2 separate regions of the Homo sapiens genome follow, and region 2 is linked to region 1. Evidence: promoter capture Hi-C in human tissues and cell types (Jung and others, 2019). All regions are on one chromosome and are shown on one strand. Each heading gives the region's core, a stretch centred on a gene start or on the middle of the fragment in contact. The rest is flanking DNA. Distances are from core to core; before and after follow the strand shown.

Region 1 (6,335 bases), core at 1,880-4,379:
CCCCTCCCATCGAGGTCACCGCGAGCCGGCCGCCCCTCCCTCCAACCTCGCCCCGGCCGGGCGGGCGCAGTGCCAAGCGTGGTCGCAGAGGCCGCCCCCCACACCCCATCCCCAAATCGTTTCTTCTGGAACCCTTTGGGCAGAGAAGGCCACCGGCCGTTTCCCTCCCTCCCTCTCTGCTTTCCCTCTCTTCCCTCCTCCGTCCAACGTCGCATTTCAGCTTTTGACTTGGCGCGCAGAGCTGGCGCGACCGCAGAGCGGCCTGGCTGGGCAGCGGTCTGCGAGGCTGGGGGATCGACCCGGCGCGAGGGTGCTGGGTGCAGGGCAGCGCGACGCGGGCTCGGCCACACCACCCGCCGTTGGGAGCCGGCGCTGTGTCTGCTCCTGGGCTGTCTGCCTTCGGAGCTCGGTTGGAAACCCCCCGAGGCATAATAGGCGCTCGATAAATGTGCAATAGGTGAACATGTGGTGGCTTGCAGGCGTCTGGGGGGAGACAGCAGGTTCTGGGCTGGGCAGGGAATTATTGGATCAACGGGCATCTTACAGGAAAGACTCTCAGCTCCCTGCCGCCTAGGACTGTCCAGCCCATCTATGCCCTCTCCCCAGCCTGTGCCCCAAAGCTGGAGCTGCCACTCTAGGGGTGAGGGGTGGGGTGGGGAGGGGGAGGCGAAGCACTGCGGCCTGAGTTGCAGGTGGGGGGAGGGGAGGCGGAGCTTCTTTGTTGCAGAAGGTGCCAGGAGGGGGCAGGGCCAGTGGAGAGGTGGGAGGTGGGAGAGGCCCCAGCCAGGGGCTGGGACAGGTGGCTGGGTCCCTGGGGAGCAATAAGTCCCGCTTGGGCGCTGTGGGGAGGCCCTTCCTAACTCCCAAACACCATCTGTGAGGGCTGGGGGTGGGGGCAGAGTAGCGTGTGCAGAGGACTGTTCCTGGGGAGAGGCCCTGTGACCAGCGGCCTCCTCCCTGGGGAGCTGGCGGTACAATGGCCCTCTGGGCCCACGGCCTCCCGCCGCTGCTGCTGACCCAGATGAACAATTGGGGCAGGGCTGAGCCCCAGGCACCTACTTTCCCCCACCCCAGAAGCCACCAGACGTTCTGCAGACCCCAGTCCTGGCTCACAGGGAAGCTGAGCTGGAGACAAAGCCAGCCCCTCTGATGAGGGTGGAAGAGGCTGCTGGCCACTGTCCCTCTTGCAGCCTGGCTGGCAGCCAGTCTGGCAGTGGCCCTGACGTCCAGAGACAGCTTGGGTTTCCCCAGAGGCTTGTCTCTGGCCAGTGGGACCCCTCTGTCAGGCCTGGGCTTTTCTCTCCACTGTCCCAGAATGATGATCTCAGCCCCCATAGTCCCCCCAGGGTTCCTCCCACCCTTAGGGTGGGGTGTCGGGGGGTGGGGGTTGGGAGCCAGAAGGACCTTGAAGAGGGTGGTTGGGACGTTTCAGGTTCTAAGCTTGACCCACAGAGCGGAGCGTGAGCCCCGTCAGGTTGAGGTCCCTCAACTTGTAAAGGACACAATTCCCATTCTCTTTATCAGGAAGCTGAGGGGCAGGGGCCCTGTGGCAGAGAGAGAGCCCCTTAGCCCTCTCTGTTCAGTCCTCCGGTGCCCCCATCCCTGTGCATCTGTGGCTGTCACATGCAGATGTGTGGCAAGGAGAAGGTGCCCACCAGCCAGTGTCAGTTGCTCCAGGAGCCAAGCCAGGTGCCCTATCACCCTGTCTTCCCGTTCCTCCCCTCCATGGTCAGGCCCTCCTGCTCCCTCCTCTGGTCCTTCAGTTTCCCCTAGGAGGCTTCCGTGTCCTCCTGCCCCTCCTCTCCCCAACAGCGGGATGCGTCTACCTCTCCATTCTCTTCCTCCTGGTCCTTGCTCATCTCTGGTCGTGTCCAGGGTAGCACCCACGTGGCCTCCTCCACCAGCTGCAGGCCTGGCCTCCCATCTGAAACGGGGCATTCAGGCCTCGATGCTGGCCCTGCACGGAACTTGTTCCCTGCCCCTCCCTGGGATGCTTGGCCTCCTCTGTCAAGGACCTGAAAGTCGGAGGGGAGGAGGTTTCTCTGACCAGAGCTGTTCCTGGACCCTCTTTGGTGGTGTCGCTCCCAGGCACAGCTACCCCATCCCCAGCTAGTCCCCAGGCCACCCAGCTGGGCTTCTGCCTCAGTTTCCCTGCCCAAACGTGCTGTGACGTAGGGCAGTGGGCTCCGGGTTGCGACCAGCCCCTTCCCATGATTAAACCCTACTCCCTGCCCCTGCAGAGGGGTCCTCAACAGCTAACCAAGCCCCCGAACCCCAAGAAGCCACCCCATCCCACCCTCCAGCTTCCATGTCCTCCCTGCCAGCTGGGCCCGTGGCAGAGGTGCCCCTAGAAACTTGCAGACCCAGGGAGCTTTGGGATCAGAATCTGGCCTGGTGCAGGGGATGCTGGCCTCATGTCTTAGCCCAGCTCAGGCCCATGGGGGTGCCCCCCTTCCTCAACATGGGCAGGAGACACTCCAATTTGTGCAGCTCTCGACTTGGGCCTGATGCCACTTGAGACTCATCAAATCCAACAGCTTCAGAGCGCGTGCTGAGTAACAGGCATCTGGCAGGTGAGGAAACAGGAGCCCAAGACATGCAGCCAGAAATGGGGCAGTTGGATTCAAAATTAGACCTGACCGAATCCTGGGTTCCTTCTACTCGAGTAGATGCTGCTTTGGGGATGACCCTTCAACTGGTGGTTACTTGGCTTCCCTACCTGGGGAACATCCAGGGCCTCTGCTGTCAGACCCGGGGCCTTGCCTGCCTGATGGTCTTCAGGGAGGAGGCGACCCAGACCCCCGTCCAGCACGTGGCACAGCCCCAGGAGCAGTAAAGACCTGGCTGTGGGCCCAGGACCCTGCTGGGTGGTCCCCCACGGGCTGCGAAGGCTGAGCTGCCCCCCTCCAGACCCCTCCCGCCAGCGCATTCCTGGCTCCCCGGCCCCTCCCCTGGCTCCCGGGCCTCCCAGCCCCCTTCCCCGCTGGCCCAGCCCGCGTCTGAATCTGCTTCTGATTCCAGCTCTGCGATGAGGCCCCCTCCCCTCCCCTGCCTCCTTCCCGACCCGAGCAGCCCCGCCCCCGGCTGGGCCCGGGCTTGCGCCTGCTGCGCCCCCCACCCCCTCCTGGCACAGCTCGTCCGCCCTCGCTGCAGCCGGGAGGAGGCGGCGGCCCGTGCACCGCAGGCCCCGCCCGCCCACGGCCCTTCCCGGGAGGCCGGGAGACCTGCTCCGCCCGGCCCTCGGTGGGTGAGTGCGAGCGGCGGGTGGGGCCTCCGCGGGCGGAGGCACCGGGAGCGGGGGCGACGCCTGTCATCGCTCTAGGCCCAGCGGGAGGACGCGCCAACATCCCCGCTGCTGTGCTGGGCCCGGGGCGTGCCCGCCGCTGCTCCCACCTCTGGGCCGGGCTGGGGCCGCCCGGGGGCCCTGTTCCTCGGCATTGCGGGCCTGGTGGGCAGAGCCGCGGAGAGGGCTTCTTTTCCCCAAGGGCAGCGTCTTGGGGCCCGGCCACTGGCTGACCCGCAGCGGCTCCGGCCATGCCTGGCTGGCCCTGGGGGCTGCTGCTGACGGCAGGCACGCTCTTCGCCGCCCTGAGTCCTGGGCCGCCGGCGCCCGCCGACCCCTGCCACGATGAGGGGGGTGCGCCCCGCGGCTGCGTGCCAGGACTGGTGAACGCCGCCCTGGGCCGCGAGGTGCTGGCTTCCAGCACGTGCGGGCGGCCGGCCACTCGGGCCTGCGACGCCTCCGACCCGCGACGGGCACACTCCCCCGCCCTCCTTACTTCCCCAGGGGGCACGGCCAGCCCTCTGTGCTGGCGCTCGGAGTCCCTGCCTCGGGCGCCCCTCAACGTGACTCTCACGGTGCCCCTGGGCAAGGCTTTTGAGCTGGTCTTCGTGAGCCTGCGCTTCTGCTCAGCTCCCCCAGCCTCCGTGGCCCTGCTCAAGTCTCAGGACCATGGCCGCAGCTGGGCCCCGCTGGGCTTCTTCTCCTCCCACTGTGACCTGGACTATGGCCGTCTGCCTGCCCCTGCCAATGGCCCAGCTGGCCCAGGGCCTGAGGCCCTGTGCTTCCCCGCACCCCTGGCCCAGCCTGATGGCAGCGGCCTTCTGGCCTTCAGCATGCAGGACAGCAGCCCCCCAGGCCTGGACCTGGACAGCAGCCCAGTGCTCCAAGACTGGGTGACCGCCACCGACGTCCGTGTAGTGCTCACAAGGCCTAGCACGGCAGGTGACCCCAGGGACATGGAGGCCGTCGTCCCTTACTCCTACGCAGCCACCGACCTCCAGGTGGGCGGGCGCTGCAAGTGCAATGGACATGCCTCACGGTGCCTGCTGGACACACAGGGCCACCTGATCTGCGACTGTCGGCATGGCACCGAGGGCCCTGACTGCGGCCGCTGCAAGCCCTTCTACTGCGACAGGCCATGGCAGCGGGCCACTGCCCGGGAATCCCACGCCTGCCTCGGTGAGGCCTTGGAGGGTGGCCTGGGGACCTTGGACACAACCAGCCTGCCCCTGACCCATCCCTCCCTGCAGCTTGCTCCTGCAACGGCCATGCCCGCCGCTGCCGCTTCAACATGGAGCTGTACCGACTGTCCGGCCGCCGCAGCGGGGGTGTCTGTCTCAACTGCCGGCACAACACCGCCGGCCGCCACTGCCACTACTGCCGGGAGGGCTTCTATCGAGACCCTGGCCGTGCCCTGAGTGACCGTCGGGCTTGCAGGGGTGAGCCACCACCGGCCACCTGCAGGCCCTCACCCTCTGACTTCCCAGATCCCCAGACAGGCTTCTGACCAGGCCCTTCCCACCTCTGTCCTCAGCCTGCGACTGTCACCCGGTTGGTGCTGCTGGCAAGACCTGCAACCAGACCACAGGCCAGTGTCCCTGCAAGGATGGCGTCACTGGCCTCACCTGCAACCGCTGCGCGCCTGGCTTCCAGCAAAGCCGCTCCCCAGTGGCGCCCTGTGTTAGTGAGTGACCCTGCCCCGCCTCAGCCACCAAGCCAAGGCCACCCCAGCTCCCTGCTGTTGTCCCGTCTATTCCCCGAGCCCTGCAGATCTCTCTGCCCCTCCATCGCAGGCCATTCTCCCTCCCTCTCTGCAGAGACCCCTATCCCTGGACCCACTGAGGACAGCAGCCCTGTGCAGCCCCAGGGTGAGTGGACACAGGACAGGGCCCCAGACTGGCATGACTTTGGGGGAGGGGGCTCTGGGAGGAGAGGGTGGGGAAAGGGAGTCTGTGCCAGCCTCCCACCTTCTACCCAGACTGTGACTCGCACTGCAAACCTGCCCGTGGCAGCTACCGCATCAGCCTAAAGAAGTTCTGCAAGAAGGACTATGGTAGGTGCCCTCAGGCCTCCCGCGGACCTTCCCACCTTCCTCCTCTCCCTACCTTCCCTCCTCCGCCAGCTTCCCCTTGGAACGCCTTGACCCTTGCTGGGCCCCAAGGCCCATCCTCATCCCTCAGGTCCTCCACGGGCAGCGACCCCGCCCCTTCAGCCCCCACTGCCCTCCTGGTGTCCTCCCCGTGCCTCCCCCTACCGCGGGCAGGCCGCCCCTTCCTGACCCCGCCCCCTCTCGCTCTCCCCGCAGCGGTGCAGGTGGCGGTGGGTGCGCGCGGCGAGGCGCGCGGCGCGTGGACACGCTTCCCGGTGGCGGTGCTCGCCGTGTTCCGGAGCGGAGAGGAGCGCGCGCGGCGCGGGAGTAGCGCGCTGTGGGTGCCCGCCGGGGATGCGGCCTGCGGCTGCCCGCGCCTGCTCCCCGGCCGCCGCTACCTCCTGCTGGGGGGCGGGCCTGGAGCCGCGGCTGGGGGCGCGGGGGGCCGGGGGCCCGGGCTCATCGCCGCCCGCGGAAGCCTCGTGCTACCCTGGAGGGACGCGTGGACGCGGCGCCTGCGGAGGCTGCAGCGACGCGAACGGCGGGGGCGCTGCAGCGCCGCCTGAGCCCGCCGGCTGGGCAGGGCGGCCGCTGCTCCCACATCTAGGCGCACGTTCACCCTGTGCCTTCGCCTGCCAAGGAGTCCTTGCTCGCGTCGCGCGTGTCGCCACCTGGGCCGCCGCCCCGTCCCCGCCGGCAGCTCCCTCGGTACCTCCCGTCTGGCCCTGGGGGGATGTGACCGGCGCAGCGACAGCCCGCCCCGCACAGAGGCAGATGATATGGCACACCCGGAGGACCCCATGGTCTCCCGCCCTCTGGCTGTCGGCCCTGTCCCAGGGGCACTGGGATACCCGGAAGGCTGTGAATCCTTCGTGATGCCGGGCCCTCTCGGGGATCTCAGATCATCCCCGGGGCCGCTGTGATGCACCCCCACCTGTGCGGCGACCCGCCAGGGAGCGCACT
Region 2 (5,812 bases), core at 3,046-5,545, 100 kb before region 1:
GTAGCATGTCATTATAGTCACCTAGCAAATTTGGGGAGAAAAAAGGAACTAGAACTTCTAGAAATGAAAAATAAAATAATCAACATGTAAAACTCAGGCTAGAAACAAGCCTTGAAAGGATAAAAGTGAACTTAAACTTCCTACAAGAACAAAACTCATTCTTTAATGAAAAACCACAAGGCTTGATCCAGGTCTCAGATCATGTGATCAGCACTTAAATTCTCTTCCTTCTTAGCATTACTTTCTTGATGCCCCAAGATAGTTGCTAGCAGTTCTTGGGACTATAGACTTCCCAGTTAAAGTTATGACTTGAAATAATGAGATTCATGTCCCTTAACTTACCTCCCTTATTTTCTGTCTCTCTCTGCTCGTGTATTTGCAGAACGAATGCTGGAGTTAATGGAGCAGTCAGCTGTCGATCTTAAGTCTCCTTAAGTAGAAAGCGGGCAGCTGGGTAGCCTTTGCCTTCACACCAGCCACTCACTGATGGGATTTTTCTCTCTGTAGTTTTAGGCTGTTCTTCAGTGTCTTTGTTTGAACGTTATATAATTGATGATCCCAAAGCTTTCTACATATTGGCAGGAATTGTTTTTGACCACAGCGTCAATGACAGCAATGGATCTTTGCCACTTGCGGTAAGAACATCCTTTCTCTAACAATTGTACTGTGCTGCCGAGACTTGAGCATGTGTTCCTTCTGCAGTCTTGTTGGCTGACCTGCCCCCGGCTTTTCTCTGTGGCAGCTTTGTCATCTTATTTCCAAAGGAGATATGCAAGGGCTCCTGTGTTTCATGTCTTACAACCTAGACTTTGAGGTCCCTTCCAGTTTTCAAATTCTTTAGAAGGCTTGTTGTGAGCAAGCCTTTATCCTGAGGGTACAGGATGGCGTATATTAAACTGCCTGATGACAGATGCAGACTACAAGATCAGCCTCCACAGACTTGCATTCCAGCCCTGCAACTCACCAGCTGTGTAACCTTGGAAAAACATTTCTGGGCCTCGGTGTCCTTATTGTTGTGAGGGCTAAAAGAGTTTTATGCCTATAAAGTGCTTAGAACAAAGCCTGGAACAAAATAACTTTCCAGAAGGATTAGTTATTGTTGTCATTACTAATAATCTTATGGACTTCAGATATGGTATGAGTGTGAGTTTGTTTAAGGAAAAGTTCATGTTGTAAACATGGGAATATTTGGTTTATGTTCTGGGATGGGAAAACCACTCATGTATAGCTTTTGTGTTGTACAGTGTATCTGATGATTAATTGTTGGAAGTTGCATGGGCTATTGGTAGATGGAGAGAGACATGTTAATAAAATAACCAACAATGTTTTTCAAGCATTTATTAATGCTAGGCAACACAGATACCATCTGGTTCAATCCTACTGTAGCCTATGAGGTAGACGTTGTTAATATCCCCATTTTACTCATGAGGAAACTGAGGAATGAAGTTTATGTAATTTGCCCAAGGTGTCAAGGCTATTCAGTAGGAGATTTGGGGTTAGAATCTGGGTGGTCTGGCTCCAGAGCCCTTGCTCTGAACTGTTCTGCAGCACACCATTCCTGAAGGGGGCTCAGGAGCGGCTGTATGTTTCCCAGGCTTGCACCACGGAGAATTTCCAGAGTACACAGGGAAGACCACTGTTGCAGCATGGTCTCCCAGGGGACACCTGCCAGTGTGGGCATCCTTCATCCTGTTACAGCTGACATCAAGCACAGATTTGTTCTGTCCTGTGCCTTTGCTGAGTTTCAGGAGTTCATAACCGAATTTGTTTTCTCTTTGTTCTTCATAGGTTAAGTATCAATTGCGCTTCAGTTACTTTCAGAAGAATTTTATACTGGGGAAGAATATATTTTTTCAAGATGACATAGAAGGCTGGTGCACATCCTTTCTTTACCCTCCCAATCCACGCCAAGAACCCCGGGAATTTCCATTTGCTGTTGGGGGAAGTCCTGGTGAGAAAGCCCCGAAGCTTGTGCGTGTTAAGAGCATGGCCGTGGCTGGGCGCGGTGTCTCATGCCTGTAATCTCAGCACTTTGAGAGGCTGAGGCGGGTGGATCACCTGAGGTAGGGAGTTCGAGACCTGACAAACATGGAGAAACCTCATCTCTACAAAAAATACAAAATTAGCTGGGTGTGGTGGCTCATGCCTGTAATCCCAGCTACTCAGGAGGCTGAGGCAGAATTGCATGAACCTGGGAGGCAGAGGTGGCGGTGCACTGAGACTGGGCCATTGCACTCCAGCCTGGGCAACAAGAGCGAAACTCCGTCTCAAAAAAAAAAAAAGAGCATGGCCACTTTTGTTGTTTTGTTTGTTTTGCTGCCAGCACATAAACTAGCATTTCAGAAGAGGTTGAAGGAGTTACATTTAGAAATGTGACATTCAGTAAACTGCTTACATTCTAGAGCAAGTAAAAACAGTAGTTATGGATTTGATTGTAACAATATTGAATTGTTTGGAGGAAGGATGGAAACATTTTACTGGAACAAGGAGTGCAGGGACCAGTGGGTGGCCAATTTAGCAGTGACATTTGTCATCATGGAGGAAACATGATCTGTGCTTTATGCATGTTTAAGATTTTCTCGGCTTCCCTTTTCCACCTGCAAATACCACTCCTATTTGGTTATTTTATTTTATTTTGAGATGGAGTTTCATTCTTGTTGTCCAGGCTGGAGTGCAATGGCACAATCTCGGCTCACTGCAATCTCTACCTCCCAGGTTCAAGCGATTCTCCTGTCTCAGCCTCCTGAGTAGCTGGGATTACAAGTGCCCACCATCACACCTGGCTAATTTTTTGTGTTTTTAGTAGAGATAGGGTTTCACCATGTTGGCCAGGCTGATCTCGAACTCCTGACCTCAGGTGATCCGCCCACCTCGGCCTCCCAAACTACTGGGATTACAGGCATGAGCCACCACTTTTGGCCCTATTCTATCTTTTTAAACACATGTCCTGTTCAACACGCATGTCATATTGTATGATCTATGTCTAACATGCCTCCATTACAATCTCCACTGACTGTATCCTTTGCATTTCATCCGTCTCATTTAATTTAATGAAGAAGAAACAGAAGATAATCATCCACACTCTTGGGACTCTCTGCATGTCTGTGCAGCTCCAAAGAGTCTGTTCCTGCTTTGGGGGAATCCCTGAACTCTTTCTGGCCTGTTCATTGGCTGATGCTTCACTTTGATTTTATTTACTCTGACTGATGCTTTTAGATCTTGCCTTGATTCTTATTCCATCCTCCCTGCCCCATCTGCAACACTGGTGCAGAATCCCAGTTCCTGTTCTTCAGGCCTCTTGGTCTTGGCTGGCCCTCTCCCTTTCCCTCTCATGAATCTCCCTATCTGCATTTCTAGTCTGGGAAAATCTCCTTTTCCCTGTCTGTCATTCAGGATAAGAGGACAGAAAATTAATGCCAGAAGGTTGGAGTTTTTCCAGGAGTTCCTATTTGTCCCAAGGGCTGGCATGTGGTCCCAAAGCCAGGTCCTGACTCCTGGCTGCCATAGTCCTCTCTTCTTGGGGAGCCATGCTGACTTTCTGCTCTGTCACCCTCTGTTGAGGGTGAAGGAGAGAGCCTTGCTGAGTGGCTGCTTTGCATCTGCTTGCTCTCTCCCATGCAAAGGGGTCTAACTGCACCTGACAGAGCAAACACCTAAAACTTGGCACCCAGTACTCCCTGGATCTGCCTGCGTTGCCCAACTCTCGCTTCTGGCAACCCCAGGTTCCTAGAGAAGTACTGGGGCAACACTGACACCTGTGCATCCTCTGTCCTTCACAATAAGCATCACATTCCCGACTGAAGGCCCATGGGCCAATCCGCTCTTGAAAGACTCATGCTCTCCCATTCACTTTAGATTTTTTGGTCTTCCTTTTTGTGAGGGGTTTAGGGTGAACATCCTCTAGGCAACTAACTTTTCTTAGAAAATTAAGCTGGTAATCTACATCTGTTGTAGAATGGCTCAAATATTGGCTTGAAGCCTCAGGCCTTTGTGCACACTAAGTGAGAGTCCAAGTCCGAGTACTTACAGTTTTGCATAATTCTAGAAAAGATCCAGCAGTTCTGCAGTGAAAATACTCCTACACACAATCAAGAATATGTAACCATTCTGAGAATTTATTACCAACAATTTGTTCCTTCTTTTTCCTGGACAGATCTGAGAGTCTGCCTAGGTCTAGGCCATCTGAAGACCATAGCCACCTCTACTCCTGGGAGGGGGTTGAGGTACCCCACCTTGGCTTTGCTCATGTTGGAGCCTGGTAACCATTGCTTGGAGGTGGGGCTGTTATCTCTTAGAGGACCCCAGAACCAGGAATCTTTGCCTTTCAGCCTATTTTTCCTGAAAGCTGACCCCATCATGCCAACTATGCTGTATTGAAATGAGTGTTGCTTGTGATAAGGACTGTTTTTGAGACTTAGTAGTAAAATTCACTGACCATAAACCCAACAGCGGTAACAATTCAGAAGTAGGTCACAACAGGTTAGGGAGGCTGTGTCTTTCAAGTGCTTTGAGTTTAACCATCTCATATGAGTGCTTTGAGTTTAACCATCTCATACGTGCTGTGTGATCAAAACTGCAGAAGAGGTGCTCTTTCCCTGAAGTCTGAATACTAAGGGGAGGAGATGTGGTCCCACCTCAAAAGATTCTTGTATTGGACATCTTTTATTTTGCCTGCCCAGGCTCCTTTACCCCATTTTTGGATCATATATGCATTACCCTCAGCTCCAGGGGTCTCCCTTGTGACTTTCCTCTCTTTCTTCCACACTGTAGTGAGGACTCTAGGGATGCCTTTCCTACCGCTGTCTGTCTCTATGAATGCCTAGCCATGATCCGTCTGAAACACCAGTTGTTGTATCTTTATACTTTCTTTCTTTTTTCTTTTTCTTTCTTTCTTTCTTTCTTTTTTTTTTTTTTTTTTGAGATGGAATCTCCCTCTGTTGCCCAGGCTGGAATGCAGTGGCGCAATCTCAGCTCACTGCAACCTCTGCCTCCCACCAGGTTCAAGCAATTCTGCCTCAGCCTCCCGAGTAGCTGGGACTTTAGGCATGCACCACCACACCCAGCTAATTTTTGTATTCTTAGTAGAGATGGGGTTTCACCATATTGGCCAGGCTGGTCTCGAACTCCTGACCTTAATTTCTTGATATTCACTATTTTCTCATAGGATACAACAAAGAAGGCTTCCTGGCCATACAGTATGCTGTGGATAAAGCCATCATGTGGTACCATGCTCACAATGCAATGACCAACATGTTTGAGAATCTCAATGTACTTGTGAAGAGATTCCCATATGGACCCTATATCGAGGACAGGTTCTTCCTAGTCCTTCAGAATGAGTTTTCTGTGTTCTTCATACTCAGCTTCATGTACATTGAGCTCATCATCATCAGTTCCATTGTACTGGAGAAAGAGAAAAGACTGAAGGTAACCCCAGATACTTCAAGTGTATGCCTCTCCTGGGACAGGGGTATGGGGAAGCTGCTAATGAAAAATGACCAGAATAGGAATGAAGCCAAAAGGAGGTTGCTTAGGTGTCCAAGCAACTTCCAAGGTGAGTTGGAACTTGGAAGGTTGTTCACAATTTTAACTTGCTTGCAATCTAGGTGATCCCACCTCTGTTATTACATGAATCCTTGCCTTTAGTCTGAGAATGTCCAGCCTGGTCATTCCTGGTTGGTCAGCACACTGCCTCCCACTAGGTAGGTGTTTGAAAAATGCTTGTGGAATGACTCATGATAAGAGATCTACCCTTCACTATTCACCACCTTGCTTGATGCCCTGAAGGCTGACCTGTAGGGATCCCAGCACATGC

Evidence for each region. The method cuts DNA at HindIII sites, captures the fragments that hold promoters and counts their contacts. A contact is called where the count stands out against the background at its distance.
Region 2: a contact is called between a fragment that was not itself captured here and the fragment with the promoter of NTN3 in region 1, in 4 of the 25 tissues and cell types used here (IMR-90 fibroblasts, adrenal gland, bladder and 1 more).

Annotation. Positions count from the first base shown.
Region 1 is chr16:2,468,168-2,474,502 of GRCh38, forward strand. NTN3 (netrin 3) reads left to right here and starts at 3,130. Exons shown (of 6, transcript NM_006181.3): 1 at 3,130-4,462; 2 at 4,534-4,722; 3 at 4,818-4,967; 4 at 5,101-5,151; 5 at 5,262-5,336; 6 at 5,589-5,978. The coding sequence starts at 3,535. The coding sequence ends at 5,938. TEDC2-AS1 (TEDC2 antisense RNA 1) reads right to left here and starts at 46. Exons shown (of 1, transcript NR_135198.1): 1 at 1-46. RefSeq lists silencers at 1-4, 3,268-3,407, 5,562-5,711, 5,782-5,841, 5,902-6,171 and enhancers at 452-995, 955-1,094, 1,255-1,334. The HindIII fragment of the contact is 12,116 bases long and covers 1-6,335 here.
Region 2 is chr16:2,365,174-2,370,985 of GRCh38, forward strand. It overlaps the pseudogene ABCA17P. Among named protein-coding and RNA genes, the nearest start is that of ABCA3, 27 kb to the left of the region's middle. RefSeq lists an enhancer at 1,752-2,101. The HindIII fragment of the contact is 6,058 bases long and covers 1,267-5,812 here.